Linked DNA regions of Homo sapiens: region 2 is linked to region 1. The links are contacts of gene promoters, found by promoter capture Hi-C in blood cells and fetal thymus (Javierre and others, 2016). All regions are on one chromosome and are shown on one strand. The core of a region is centred on a gene start or on the middle of the fragment in contact, and the rest is flanking DNA. Distances in the headings are between cores, read along the strand shown. Region 1 holds the start of FANCC (FA complementation group C). Region 2 holds the start of TDRD7 (tudor domain containing 7).

Region 1 (7,745 bases), core at 3,640-6,139:
GCATGTTGATATTTGAAAACATGGCAGAAGCTGGAAAGTCACTCTCACCTTCCCTCCTCTCCTTTCTCCTGATGCGGGTCATAAAACCTTGGAATGATTTTCTGAACTTCCCCTGAAGCAGGTCCTAAGACCCTCATGTAAGAAGTGCTGCCTATATCCACAGTACCTATCTCCACAGGAAAGGTACTTTCTTACCTCTGAAGACTGACGGGTTACAGAGAAAAATCTGAACAAATAAGCCTTGCTAAATTCCCCCCAAGTTTATTCCCATCTTTGTTCAACTGTATCTCCCCACAACTGTCCACTCTTCATGAAACCTGGCATAGAAACACACAAGTTTAACAGCTTCTCTGGGTCTTCCTTTCCTTAGGAAGGCTCCTATGTCATGGGAAACTTACATGCAATGTCTATGCTTTGCTCCTGTTAATCTTTTATTATGGAGGCCTCAGCCATGAACCTAGGATGGGTACAGAAAAGCCATTTTTCATTCCCTATAGTAATCTCGCAATAGGTATCTATTGATTAATTTATCAAATAGGCTCAGCCAAAGTGCGAATGCCCAGTGACACAATGAAGAGCTGCCACCTCCAGGTTCTTAGTCAGGGCTTGCTTTGCAGTGAGGGAGAGAAACTCACTGAAGTCAGCATAGGTAAAGGGATGACTGTTGCAAGGATATGGGGCAATCCTGTGGACAACTAAGAACAGAAAAAATATATAGTCAGTTAACCTTAAAATTAGGCTTAAAAATAAAAAATAAGGAATGGAAGCTCCCCTCTCTCTCACAGAATAAATAACAGCCTTTCAACGTCATTTTGCTTTTCTCTGCCAGCCAACTTTCTTTGCTACTTACATATTTTTCTTCCCCAAGTAACTCCAGTTGGCATGAGGGCTTTAGCTCCTGTTGTATAGAGATGTTACAGTCTCTCAGTGTTGCAATTCCAAATTCCCCAGCAATAGTTTGATTGGTTCAGCTAGGGTCAGGCTACCATCTCTGGTTCAATTAGCTGTGGCTAGTAATGGAGGCTCTAGTACAAACATGTCCTCCTAGGTGCATTCTTTCAGCAGAGCCTAGGGAGTGAGCATATCGGGGGCAGGGTAGAAGTGGCAGCTTCCATGCAGCATTTATAATACATTTCCCTTTTTCCATGAATTTCCATCTCCTGCAGCCATCCCTTTCTTGGCCTTTTCCCCTTCACGGTGGCAGATCAAAGCCCTTCACTATTATCTGCTCCGTTTCTTAAAGTGTTTCTGGCACAAAAAATATTCTCATTGTTCTCTTCTCTAGTTCAACTTACATTTCCTCAGTTGGAATGTTTTAATGGGAAAGTAATGTGGTGATTAGAGTGCAGAAGCCTCTGGGATCACCTCACCCTATTTTCAAGTCACCAGCCTGGGCCAGGAGCAAGAACATTATAAGTAAGAGGCCACTGTAAATGGAGTTGAAGCCAGGTTCCACCCTCCACTAGAAGAGATGGCTCTGTGCATGAGTTTCTGTATCTGTGAAAGTGGAATATTACCACTGTGGATTACATAAGATCACTGTGAGAATCAAAGGGAATAACCCAGGCCAAGGAGTTAGCCCAGTGCCTGGAACTTCAACACGCATTATTCACAACTGAGGTACAAGAGGCAAATATCAAAGCCATGGACAAGATAGTGTTAAGGGCGTGATGGCATGTGCCTGTAATCCCAGCTACTCATGAGGCTGAAGCATGAGAATTGCTTGAACCGGTGAGGCAAAGGTTGCAGTGAGCTGAGCTGAGATCATGCTACTGCACTCCAGCCTGGGCGACTGAGTGAGACTCTGTCTCAAAAAAAAAAAAAAAAAAAAGAAAAGATAATGTTAAATGTTGGGGTGCCAAATAAGGACTGGAAACCAGGTGGGTGGTGTCTGAACTAATTCTGGAAGTAGGAGTCTTGGTACAATGGTTTCCACAACGTGGATTCTAAGACAGTTGATTCTATTTGTTGAACTTTGAAGGAAGGTTTGATAATGTCAGGAACTTTGCAGCACTCAGCCAATTGACTTGTTTTCCTCTAGAATGTAAAGATTTAATGTAAACGATGTAATAATTTTCACCTAAATAGGCCATTTTTCATTTTGCGACATTATTTGTGATTGGGTTCTATACTACAACCAAAACTGTGTTCCAGAGTAACACACACCTGGGCCCGGTGGCCCACGCCTGTAATTCCAGCATTTTGGTGCCACTGAGGTGGTTGGATTGCTTAAGCGCAGAGGTCGAGGCTGCAGTGAGCTGTGTTTGCACCACTGCACTTCAGCCTGGGTGAGAGTGAGATGCAGTCTCAAAACAAACAAATCAAAACCACACACACACACACACACACTCCCACACACAAACAAAAATTGGATCACCCATAATCAATTTTATGATTCAATTAAAAAGAGGGTTTGTATTGAAATATCTGTTTCTCTGGAAACTTTCTGGGCATTTTACAAAGTGAACATCTCACTATTGCTTAAAATATTATTAAGATAGTTCCATGTATATGAATGCCAGGCAAAATGAATCCCTATAAATATAAGTTTGGATCTTTATGCTATATATGCTTCCTATTTAGGTCTAATTTAGGCCTAAACATGGTGTCATTTCATATACTGCAAAGTTGGATGAGCCTAGCAATTCTTTATTAACCACTGAACTAAAAAGACAGAAAACTGGGATATGGCAAGACATCAATCATTAACAAACACTAAAAATGATTTTTCAGCGAATATGTAAAAGGATGTGGGTACCAAAATAGATAATTTCTCTCAAGAAATACATACTTTAATTGCTTTCTTTGCTGATAAATGCAGAACTTAAACGTCAACTCACTCTCGATTTGTTACCACAGAGGTGACTTTCTCATGGTCAAGGTGCCACGATGAGTGCCCCTCAGGCATGTATTTCCCTACCCAGGACTTGCTTTTGATTTATCCATGTCACACTATGCACACATCAAAAACACATCGACCTCTCTGCTGTAAAACAGAACGAAATCATGTCCTTTGCAGCAACATGGATGGAGCTGGAGGACATTATCCTAAGTGAACAAACTCAGAAACAGAAAATCAAATATTGCATGTTCTCATAAGCGGGAGCTAAACAATAGGTATACATGTACATAAGAATGGGAATAACAAGACACTGGGGACTCCAAAAAGGGAGAGGGTGGGAAGGGGGTGAGGGCTGAAAAATTAGCTATTGGGTACAATGTTCAATGTTTGGGGGACAGGTACACCAGAAGCCCAATCCCCACCATTACACAATATACCTATGTAACAAGCAAGCACATGTACCCCCGAATCTAAAATTAAAAAACAATCAAAAAGCACCGACTTCCTTAACTGGCATGGAATAGTTTCGAGAATGGATGTAAACACCGAATTCCTTAATGTAGTTGCAGATTCTGCCAGTTTTGTCTCAACCTCTGGATCGGTTCCTTTTTTTAACTACCTTTAATTCTTAAACAGATTGTTGCTATTGCTATGCTATATACTTATTGTATCACTTATAAATGTATAACCTCTGCAAATTAGTCTCTGAATTGAAAGTATTCATTGGTAAAACGGGTATTTCTTCACCATAGGAATAGTTGGACATGTTTAAATACTTGAGAGCTATTTTTATTACAAGCACACACAGCTTTGTGGTGTTTTTTGTTGAGACAGAGTCTCGCTCTGTTGCCCAGGCTGGAGTGCAGTAGTGCGATCTTGGCTTACTGCAACCTTCGCCTCCTGGGTTCAAGCAATTCTCCTGCCTCAGCCTCCTAAGTAGCCGGGAGTACACACTAATTTTTGTATTTTTAGTAGAGACGGGTTTTTGCCATGTTGGCCAGGCTGGTCTCAAACTCTTGACCTCAGGTGATCCACCCGCCTCAGCTTCCCAAAGTGCTGGGATTAGAGGTGTGAGCCACCGCGCCCGGCCTGTAGTGTGTTTTTGAACGTATATGTGAAGTTGTAGCTTTTTTTTTTTTTTTTTTGAGACGGAGTCTCCCTCTGTCGCCAGGCTGGAGTGCAGTGGCGCGATCTCGGCTCACTGCAACCTCTGACTCCCTGGTTCAAGCTATTCTGCCTCAGCCTCCAGAGTAGCTGAGATTACAGGCGCCCGCCACCGCGCCCGGTTAAACGTTTTGTATTTTTAGTAGAGACGGCGTTTCACCATGTTGGCCAGAATGGTCTCGATCTTCTGACCTCGTGATCCGCCCGCCTTGGCCTTCCAAAGTGCTGGGATTACAGGCCTGAGACACAGCGCCCGACCTAAGCTGTAGTTTTATGATTATGATTTATGGTTGTGAGGCATTGATTTAAGACATTTTAAAGCTTAAGTCGTCAGATCCTAGAAGAAAAAAAAATTCACCAAGACAAGCTAATGCCATTGTCATAAATGGGAGTTTGGAGAAAATTTTATTAATATTTGTTTGGGTGGTTTATGTACAGCGTTGAACTGATTTGAACCCCGACCAAACACTGTATGGAACTAATGTACGGTAGGGGAAATCATTAACTGAAGATGCCTTTTTTGTTGCTATTGTTTAGAACGCAGTTAGAAAATCTTATTTTAGAGGTTTTACCCCGTTGACAAAGCCTCAACTTTTCTTCAAAAGAACTAATTTCCATTTTACCTCCCCTACATTTTGAACAGAATATGGAAGAAGCCAGCGCCCCTTCTCCGCGGGCGCTGCTGCAACCCTGCTCCCGCCGGGGCTTCCGCGCGAAACCGGGAACACTGGAGCAGTACCGACTCCGCTCGCCTAGAACCCGCCCCAGCCGGGCCCACTTCCGCCAGAGCCCTGGCCGCGCCCGCCCCGCCCCACGGACCCGAGATTCGTCGGAATTTTCCCGCGACGCCGCGGGAGCGCGCGGGGCCGCTAGCCAGGCCCCAGAATGCACTGCTGACACGTGTGCGCGCGCGCGGCTCCACTGCCGGGCGACCGCGGGAAAATTCCAAAAAAACTCAAAAAGCCAATACGAGGCAAAGCCAAATTTTCAAGCCACAGATCCCGGGCGGTGGCTTCCTTTCCGCCACTGCCCAAACTGCTGAAGCAGCTCCCGCGAGGACCACCCGGTAAGCGGCAGGCCGCAGAACGCAGCGAGGGCGGAGGCTTCCCTCGGGGGTCTGGCCGACACGTCAGCGGCGAGAGCGGGAGGAGGAGGCGAGGGGCAAGAGGGAAGGCTCGCGAGAGCGGGTGGGCCAGGCGCGCCTTGCGGTGGGCGAGAGGGGTTCCCGCCGGCGCAGGGCTGTGGCTAAGGCTGAGGCGGGAGGCGGGAGGCGGGAGGCGGAAGGTGGCGGGCGGTGCCAGCCCGCGGGGCGGGGCCAGGGCGGGGAAAGCGGGGGCGGGAGCCGGCGCTGGGGTCGCGCGGAAGGGAGCCCCCGGAGAGGCGGGAGCCGGGTGTTGGCGTTTTGGTTCTTTTTGTTCATTGAGCGCAGGCAGCTATGTCTTCTTCAAAGGAGAGGAGCAAAGGTGAATTTCTCTGCCTCGGACTCGTGGGAGCCGTGAAAAGCTCGCCCCTTTGAGCCGGTCGCCCTCTACAGCTGGCCTCGTCCTCCCCGTCCCTCACACCCCTGCCCCCAAACCCCATTCGCCGGGGCGCCAGGAGGGGCGAGGTCCAATTAGAGGAGCCCGGGGCGCGGCTGTTACCCCTCCCGCCCTCCGCCTTTTATTCCCGGAGGGAGGCGGGTTCGCAGAGGCCAGTGTCTTCCCTCCATTCTTTTTGTGGACGCCAGGCCATATCTTCAAAGCCCGTGAGAGATTTTTCAGGTGCTGTTTGTTGGTTTGCTCTTTTTAATTTTTTAGGTGGGTGCGTTTACAACTACGAACCCTCTATGATCTTATGTGTCCAGCGCACCGAATGGGGGAAAAGACTTGGAGTTTTATAACATGGGAAATTGGGTACCAGAATCTTAAGGGAAGAGACCAAGGAGTTTTCTAGCAAAGTCCTGTATGTGCCTGGACTTTTGTTCTAATCTGAAACTTGGAAAACTCCCGGGCATCTGATTTTATTCTAACTTGTGCCCCATTTAATGCATCTAAACTGTGATGTGATTTGACTTAGCATTTATCAAATGAGCAGAGCACTTTTGGGCCACCCAACTTCAGCTCTTTGTGGCTGTCACTCACTGTCAGTGATATGCCCTCAGACAGATCGTTTTCTCCTTACTCCCCTGAAAGGTTGTTACAAACAGTAGAATTCATACCATGTGTTGAGATCATTCATTACCTAAGCTTAGATGGAAAACATGTTCATTGCGACTTTATACATTAAACTTGAATTGATGTTTCAATGTTATGTGCTGTACCAGAGTCACCTGGAAATAAGCACTCATATACATTATTCATATACAAGAAAGGCTGCATCGAAAAAGAATTTGTTTTCCTAGATATATCAGAGATCTTTTTCACCAACCCACTACTCCCAGTAATAGAGCCTGCTTCTTGAGAACTGGACTAATTATACTTTGTATATTATACATTCGAATTTATTTTTGCTTTATTCGGTCATATTTTCTCTTGATTTCTCCAAAAACGTTTACCAAGGCATCAGAAAAGAAAAGCAGGCTCTATATTGGTATTTTTTGTTTTGTCCTCTAATAAAAAGCATTAACTTGATTGATTGGCTGGTTGTGGAAGATGTGTTGCTGCATGTATGTGCAACTGTGCATGTACATTTTAAAACAAATGGTACTTTTAACCAGTTCCATATTTCAGCAGGTAGTTCCAATAACAATTATACAAATTTCGTGTTTATGAGAACCAGCTACAGGGAGGCCAGCCTGGCCAGTAGAAAGTTGGATTGATTATCTGGGCCATGGAGAGAGCCAGAGGAAACTCACATGAGTGGTAGTTCCAAGTTGGTAGTGTTAGGGCCTCAAATCGGGCTGGAAATGAGCACCAAATGATTTTTAAAAGTTTTATTTTAGGCTGGGATATGTGCATTCTCTGTCTTGTTTGTGGATCTTGAGTGATTGACTTAATGTGAAAAAATACATACAGGAGAAGCACCTTGGAAGTTTTGCAATGTTTTAATAAAAATGCAGAAGTGGAGAAGGAAAGGCAATTCAGATAACAGGCAGAGCATGGTGGCTTATGCCTGTAATCCCAGCACTTTGGGAAGCGGAGGCGGAAGGATCACTTGATCCCAGGAGTTCGAGTCCAGCGTGGGCAACAGAGAGAGCCCTGTCTCTACAAAAAGTTAAGAAATTAGCCGGCCATAGTGATGCGGGGCTGTGGTCCCAGTTACTCGGGAGGCTGAGGTGGAGGATCACCTGAGTTCAGGAGGTCGAGGCCACAGTGAACTGTGATTGCGCCACTGCACTCCACACTGGGCAGCAGACTGAGACCGTGTCTGGAAAAATAAAATTGGTAACAATTCAGATTGGCCACCAGAGTTGGACTGGGGGCTAGCAGGCAATGGTTTTACCTCCATTTTGAGATTGGCATCTTCTAACTCAAGTTTAATACGGGACTGAGGGTAAGAGACCTGCATGCCTTTTATGTCAGCATTACATTATCTTGATTATGGCAGCTTTATAGTAAGTTTTGAAATTAAGTAGTGTAAGTTATCCAATGTTTTTCTTCATTTTCAAAATTGTTTTGGCGGTTCAGGGTTCCTTACATTTCCATATAAATTTTAGTATCAGTTTGTTATTTTTTTTCAGAAAACCGTGCTGTGATAGACTTTGTAGGAATTGCATTTAATTTTGCATATCTATTTGGGGGAGAATTGCCATCTCATCATG
Region 2 (7,745 bases), core at 2,193-4,692, 2.1 Mb before region 1:
AAGATTATGCCTGAGCCTCCTTTTACTTGTGTTCCGCAAGTTTAATGCCACTGCTCACTCATTTTCCTGGGATAAGCCCCTTCTCCTGGATCTCATTCTCTTTATCTGTAAGATGAGTGAGGTCAGTATTAGTTCTCAATCCTCCCCCAAGCAATGTGATACATAAAGATGGAAGGCGGATGTCTACAATTCCTTCACTCTTCACCACTTCCATGGCAGTTGTCCTAGTCCGTGTCAGCAACATCTCTTTCCTGGAGCAGAGCAGCTGGGCTCTTAGCTGGTCTCTCTGCTTCCACTTCACCTCCTAGAATCTGTTCTCCACATATCAGCCTGAGTGATCTTTTCATATAATATATACTATTATATCACGTCACTCAAAACCCTCTAATGCTTCCTGTGTTAACTCAGACAAAAAGCCAAGTCCTTACAGAGCCAAAAAGGGCCCTGCATAACCTGCAACCCCCACTTCTTTGCCCTAAGTTCTCTCTTCTCTTTATTTTCATTCACCCATCCTGGGCTCCATGCTTTTCCTTGAACATGCCTGAGATGGCCTCACAACAGGGCTTTTGTACTTGCCATTCTCTCTACCTGGGACATATTGACTCCAGGGGCACATGTGGCTCACAGCCTTACCTCCTTCAGCTAAAGTACGTGCTCAACTGTCACCTCCACAGTAAGGCCTTCTCTGGCCACCCTATTCAAAATCAAAACTGAGATGCCAGCTTCCCTGATTTTCTCCTTAGCACTTATCACCATCCAATATTCTTCTCCATTTAATGGTTTTATCTTTCTCCCCAACTTCAATGCAAGCTCCATGAAAGCAAGGATTTGTGTCTGTTTTGTTCATTGCTGAATCCCTAGTGCCTAGCCCACCGAGAGCTCAATAAATATTTGTTGAATGAATAAGAAATTCTCCATCCACCTACCACTCCTTTTCTCTCCTACTCACTAAAATACAGCATAACATAGGTGAGCTATTAAAGGCATAACTCTGAATCCAATTTAAGTTACTAAAAAATTATCTGCAAATGTTAACAATTCTTATAAACTGAATGAGACAGCCAATCGCAACACCAAACTGTGGTTGAGAATCATCAAGTAGATTATTTCTGAGCATGTCCACTCTGAGCCAGATTAGGCCCTGTCAGGGCCGCAGCATGATTGCAAGGAGCCCACACATCCTGACAAGCAGCAGGCACGGCTTGAATATTAGTAAATGTCTCACATGTACTTATAGTCCTGTTTTTCAGAGTGTGCAGATATTATTGGGATCCATAAACACAAACTGATATTAAATTCACAACAGCTTTTGGTAGTTATATGTTTAATTGACCAATGGATACTGCAAGCACAACTACTAGTGTATGAGGTTTCACGAAATTTTTCTAAAGCTACAAAAAATGGCCTCATACTTGAGGAGACTGAGAATCAACGCTTGACCACATGGTTGCAATCTGTAAATTAAGTTCCCTCCCCCTGCCTGCCTTTTTAAAGTATGCTATCTTTCATGGAGGACTATAACTCTCTATTTGCAAACAACTTTTTGAAGGGAAGGGGAATCCCTTGGAGTATAAGACTGTGGGTCTCCAAGCTGGTGAGAAGCAGTTAAATGCAGTAAAACCTGGAAGGCTAAATGTGATTGTATTCAAATGCACGACTTGCCAGTCTGATTTCAATTCCCACATTAGCAACATCACTTCAGGCAGTGAACGAAAAAGAAAGTGTAAGCTTTAAAAAAAATCGTCATTATTTTCTAAACTATATCACTTTGGAAATGCTCTGAGTTTTGTTACGTGGCTCATGATGACTTTTTTTTGAAACTTTCGGAAGATGGCAATTATACTCTCAAGGTATATAAGAATACTTTGTTCTAACTATAAAAATAAAGTTTAATATCTTAGACATCATCCATTAGAAGCATAAAAGAAAGTATATCATAGGAATTTCAACTGGAGTGCAGTGGCGCAATCTTGGCTCACTGCAACCTCCGCCTGCCGGGTTCAAGTGATTCTCCCGCCTCAGCCTCCTGAGTAGCTGAGACTATCTTTTTTATGCTTTCGTGCTTTCCTTTTTTTCTTCGCTTATACCCAGTTAATCTTAATTATCCAAGACACTAATAATGCACATGAGGTGGGGTGGGGAGTTGGGGAGTGATGACAATCTTTAGGGAAACAAAATTTAAATAATTTAAGTGGCCTAAAATAATTCTCACTCTACTTCAAAACTGCATTTTGTAAATTCACAGCTTTTCTCTTTACTATACCTGAAAATGGCCCAAGGAAGTCCTATTCTGAAGAACCTGGTTTTGGTGTATCCCAGATAAACGCCTTCTACCATTGATTGATCCTCCCTGGCTCAGTCATTTGCATGTTATCTGCTTCCTCTAACTACTGGTGTCAAAGGCCTTTAGCTGAGCTAGTCTGGCTTCCATCCTATGCCTTCTCTTTTCTAAGTTTCTTCTTGCTCAACTATTTCCAACTGTATGATTTGGCTCATCTTCCTTACTACATTTTTCATGTCATCAGTTTAAGTTGTCGAGTGGCACTAAATCTTAAAACAAATCAGAAGAATTATTAGGGTAAACTGAAAACACCAAGTAATCTCTCTTAGCTTCTTTTAGTTAGATGTTCAATTTTGAAGTATCTGGATATCTCTTTAGGGCATATACTTCTAATAACTAACTGCCCTTCTCCTTGAAGACACTATTTTAGCAACAGCGGGAACTTAAAGTCCCATAATGTCTGTGCTGACACATTTTAGGCATCGTCTAGGCTAACCCAAGCTCCTTATCTTACAAATCAATAAACTGAGCCTCAGAGGGAAAATTTTTTCCTAAGATCTTTACCCAATAAATGATTTCTCACCTTGCGACACTTTTAAATGCTCTTTTCTTTCTAATCATAGTCTGTTACCACTTCAATTACTCCTTCACCAACCGGTTTTTAAAGGAAAAAGATGATTAATACCCTCAGATGATGGTATACTTCCTTAAGAGTTTTTTTCAGGGAGTTATCTTTTTTATTCTTGTGATCTCAAGTTCCAAATTATTCGTGCATTTTAACTGCATACCACGAATGTACGTAAGTAAGGGATTTCCATAAGTCTACATACTAGACGAAAAAACCCTGAGATAATAAAGTGGCTTAGTAAGGAGTTTGTGTCTTAATCCTAGTTCCGCTACTGATTACCTGTGACAAGTCACTTCAGGTCTCTTTTTTTCACAAGGAAGATAAGAAAGGTGGGCAAGAGCCATGATTCTCAACTTTCCTTGGATTCACTGAAGGCTGAAATAAGGTCCAAATATGTAATGAAAACCGAGTTTGCTTACTCATGACAAAGCTGCACAGGCTAAAATGCCAAGCTTACTTTGAAGTCACACTGGGTAGCTTGCACTGATCAAGTTCTGATTGGCATATATACATGTCTTCAACTAAAAATTGCAAAATTAATTACTTTTAGTTTGAAAGACAAAACTGTAAACATATTTGGCTTACAGGGAAATAATGACAAGAATGAAGCTTTCAAAAGTACAGAGGTGGGAGTGGAGGGAGGAAAAAGCAGGTTTGGCACAAAGAAACAACAGTTCACGTAAATATAAAATTTCACCAAGGAACTTCTGTGAAAGTGTCCAGATGCAAAGCACTCTATGTCAAATCTCAATTCTTGAAAACAGCACTTGACAAACACAAATTAGGCACTCGGGGTTGGATTATATTTTTTCTTTATATTCACATTAAGTATCCAGCTAGATTATATTGCACAGAGAACTTAAAAGAGGGGTTCTGCAAGGAGTTTAAAATCTCTTGATGCACAATACAATAGTTCATTCAGCCATGTTCAACCTGTACACTTAAAAGGGCATTAGCAGGGGATTACACTTCATTTTCAATCTACAGAGACTGAAATCTGAAGGCACTGCCAACTGCTGCCTCACAGTCTCACCGTGCAACTACCAAAGACGGAGGCTGTGTGCCACCAAAGGGCCCTGGATTGGGGCACAGGAGATGTGAGTGCTAATCCAGCTGGCCCCAGGGGCAATTCCCTATACCCAGAACAGTACTTTGCACGTAACTGATGCTCAATGAATGTCAGCTGAGAGGAAATGCAAAAATATCCACCATGTGCCCATTTATATTATATAGTAAACACAAAGATCTTTGTGTCCCTGCCCTCAAAAAACTAAAATCCAATTATGTAAAACATGGACCGTTTGTTGGGAGGAAGAGAGTGAATACTGCTTGGCAATTATTATGAGGCAAAGGATATACAGTGGTTATCTTGGAAAAGCCTTGCAAAGTAAGCCAGGTACCTCTATTTGACACATAGAAAACCAGGCTAAGAGAAAGCATGTAATTTGTTCAAGATCACACAATTTGTAAAATGAGAAGCCCAGATTTCAATCCAGGTCTGCAAAGTTCACATTATTTGCAGTATGCAACACATTCATACACATCAAGGCAGCCCAGGACGAGACAGGGATTTGGGTCCAAGTTTTACTTCTGCTATTAAGCTGTTGCCTATCTCTCTAGAGAGAACATTTCTCTGCATTTTTTTCACCGGCACGATTGGAGAGCAGAGAGGTGTTGGTAGGAGGGTTAATGAACTAGATCTGTGGTTTTTTGGTTTGGTTTGGTTTGGATGGGCGGTGATCAGAATTCTTCTGGGCCAGGACTTGTTCTAATGTGGTTGTTTCCCTTCCCTGCTCTTAGAAATTATTTGAGAATGGTACCTTTAGCTATTAATGGAAATATACCTCTCAAGTGAATGGGAGCAGAAAGATATGCCGGCTCCAAGCTCCCTCCTAGCAAGCTGAAGCTGAGAGTCTGACCCTGCTGAGGGGATGCTACTGAAAGTTGAGAGACAACTTACTCACGGATCCATGTTTCCCTCCCAGCTGGGTGCTCTGTACCCACTGGGTGCTCCTCGTTTGAGAGAAATGGGGATGTGTGTCCTGCATTACTTAAGCGGCCTGCCTGGGGCTCGTCTCCAGATTATAGAGACCTTCAAGAGAAGTTCGTGGTGTAAAATACTTGGGTTCAAATAGGGGAGCGCGGACATCCCTCGCTGGGGGCGGCGGCTGCGGCCTGTCGCGCCGGTAGCGGGAACCACTTCCTGGTCCGCATCTCCCGCCCGCGTCCACACCCCGCTGCTGCATTTCCCCCACGGCGCAGAGCTTCCGAGGCGGCAGGAGGCTCCGTCCGACTCCCGCGTGAACGCCCGGCCCGGAGCAGGGTCCCTTCAGAGATTTAAAACACAACGCTCTGGAACTCCAACTCCCCCGGCGCCCAGCCCGGTTCCCAGGCGTCGGGGCGGGGGCAATCCCCTGCGGCTGCAGGGAAAAGGCCCCGAGCCTGTTGGAGCCCCCGGCCCTGGCCGCGGTCCCACCGGTGACCCAGGTGCGCCGCGCCCGCCCGAAATCTCGTCCGACGTCGCCCGGCACCTGTCGCGCCCGGAGCCCGCAGGACCTGCACTCACCTCGTTCCGGGGGCCCACGGCCCGTCCCCGCGTCTCTGGGCCCAGCTCCTGCCGCCGTCTCCGCCAGGGGCCCCGCCGCGGCCGCCGCCCACTTTCGGTTTCCCCGCACCACCGGAGCCGCCCCGCGGCTTGGGAATCACCTCAAGCCCCCGCCCCGCCCTGCTCGGCCCCGCCCCGCTTCGCCCCGCCCCGCTTCGAGGGCAGCCTGGCCTCGGCTCTGCGCACGCGCGGGCGCTCCGGCCGCGTCGGCCCACGCCGGCGTCCGCGCGTGGGAAGGGAAACCGTCGCCACCTAGCGGTTTCTGCGCGTGCCCACGCACCGGCCGGCGGCGGAAGACGCCTGCGGGGCGGGTGCGGGAGCGCCTCCTGGTGGACAACGCAGGTACGCGCGGGCCGAGCGAGCCGGGACTCAGCAGGGGGCGAGGGTGGCTCCTTCTATGGGGCTCACCCTCCTTCCAAACAGTTCAACTCCTGCACATTATTTTCTTCAACATCTGGAGCAGTTACTTTTTATTGCCCTAGACACACACTCTGTCCGCCCATATCCTTCAGGCCTTTCTCAAGCATTACCCTTTCAATGACGGTGGACACAGTCTCTAACATGTCAACCTCCTTCCTTGACTTTCCCTATCCCCATTCTCAACCTTATTTCTCCTTAGCACCTATCTAGCACACTATATGTATTTTACTTATGCTTTTATTGTCTGCTATCCTTCTAAAATTAAAGCTCTGTGAGCACAAGGATTTTTGTTTGGTTCCTTAACCTATTCCCAGAGCCTAGGATAGTGCCTAGCACACGATCAGCAATAAATATCTGTCAAATTTATTCATTCACTCTAAAGTTATTGAACACCTAATAAGTGAATACTTATTTATTCTGCACATTAATTCCACCAACACTTATTGGCACCTGCTTTGCATCCCTGCAGCCAACATTGAACACTTCTCTGCACCATTGGATATGCATTTACTGAGAACCTGCTGCTTATTCAACCGGTATTTTATTACAGCTTGACTGCCATGTATAAGACATACAATAAACTGAACGTTTAAAATGTACAGCTTGATAAATTATGCATTTACTGAGAACCTGCTGCTTATTCAACCGGTATTTTATTACAGCTTGACTGCCATGTATAAGACATACAATAAACTGAACGTTTAAAATGTACAGCTTGATAAATTATGCATTTACTGAGAACCTGCTGCTTATTCAACCGGTATTTTATTACAGCTTGACTGCCATGTATAAGACATACAATAAACTGAATGTTTAAAATGTACAGTTTGATAAGTTTTGATATATATATATCACTGTGAGACCATCACTGCAATCAAAATCATGAACATATCCATCACCCAAAAAAGTTTTACTGTGATCCTTTGTAATTCTTATATCTTGTCCCTCCCTGTCACTTGCCCCCTCAACTGCTCACCTGCTTTCTGTTGCTATAGATTATTTTGCTTTTTCTAGAGTTATATGTAAAACTTTTATGTATGGAATCGTATGTACTATCCTTTGGGGGGCTGCCTGGCTTCTTTTATTTAGCAAATTATGTTCATCCATGTTGTTACATGTATCAATAGTTCATGTCTTTCTATTGCTGAATGGTATTGTAGGGATGTACCAAACCTACCACGCAACCCAGCAATTCTGCTCCTGGGTATTTACCCAGGAGAAATGAAAGCAGATGTCCACACAAAAACCTGTACAAGAGTGCTCATGGCAGTTGTGTTGGCCGTAGCCCCACATGGAAAGAATACAAACATCCGTCAGAAGGTGAATGGACAATCAACTAATATATATTGAACACCTGCTGTTAAATAACAAATTTTCATGGATAAGCCTGTGCTTATAGAGCTTTTGATTCAGTGAAAAGATGCAGTAGGCAATACAAAGAAAAATTGGAAGTAAATCTGGAAAACCTGATATCCAGCTCTCAGACACTTGGATGTTTCCCCAAAGGCGGTAGGGAATTGTTCAGAGTTTTTGAACAGGGCTTTTCTTTGAACACTGTTCTCTTTCATATCCTAGATCTGGTCCCTGACTAAGTTTGCCTAAATGTCTCTCTCTGGAATTTCTCTGCATCTCCTTTGCTCTATTTCAGTCTATTTCAGATGTCTTTCTGTTCTTTCCCTTCCAGTCTACTCCAAACATTGCAGTGGATTTTTAATAGACTTTGCTATGGTCTGAATGTTTGTGTCCCTACAAAATTCATGTTGAAACCTAATCCCCATTCTTGCGGTGTTGAGAGGTGGGACCTTTGAGAA

The links. The method cuts DNA at HindIII sites, captures the fragments that hold promoters and counts their contacts. A CHiCAGO score of 5 or more calls a contact.
Region 2: a contact is called between a fragment that was not itself captured here and the fragment with the promoter of FANCC in region 1, in 1 of 17 cell types (total B cells). The highest score is 5.4, in total B cells.

What each region holds. Positions count from the first base shown.
Region 1 is chr9:95,314,853-95,322,597 of GRCh38, reverse strand. It overlaps FANCC (FA complementation group C), which reads left to right and starts at 4,889. Exons shown (of 15, transcript NM_000136.3): 1 at 4,889-5,072. RefSeq lists a silencer at 5,218-5,537. The HindIII fragment of the contact is 1,904 bases long and covers 4,330-6,233 here.
Region 2 is chr9:97,409,969-97,417,713 of GRCh38, reverse strand. It overlaps TDRD7 (tudor domain containing 7), which reads right to left and starts at 5,618. Exons shown (of 17, transcript NM_014290.3): 1 at 5,476-5,618. RefSeq lists enhancers at 4,772-5,031, 4,636-5,135, 5,136-5,637 and silencers at 4,973-5,267, 5,352-5,561, 5,582-5,931. The HindIII fragment of the contact is 157 bases long and covers 3,364-3,520 here.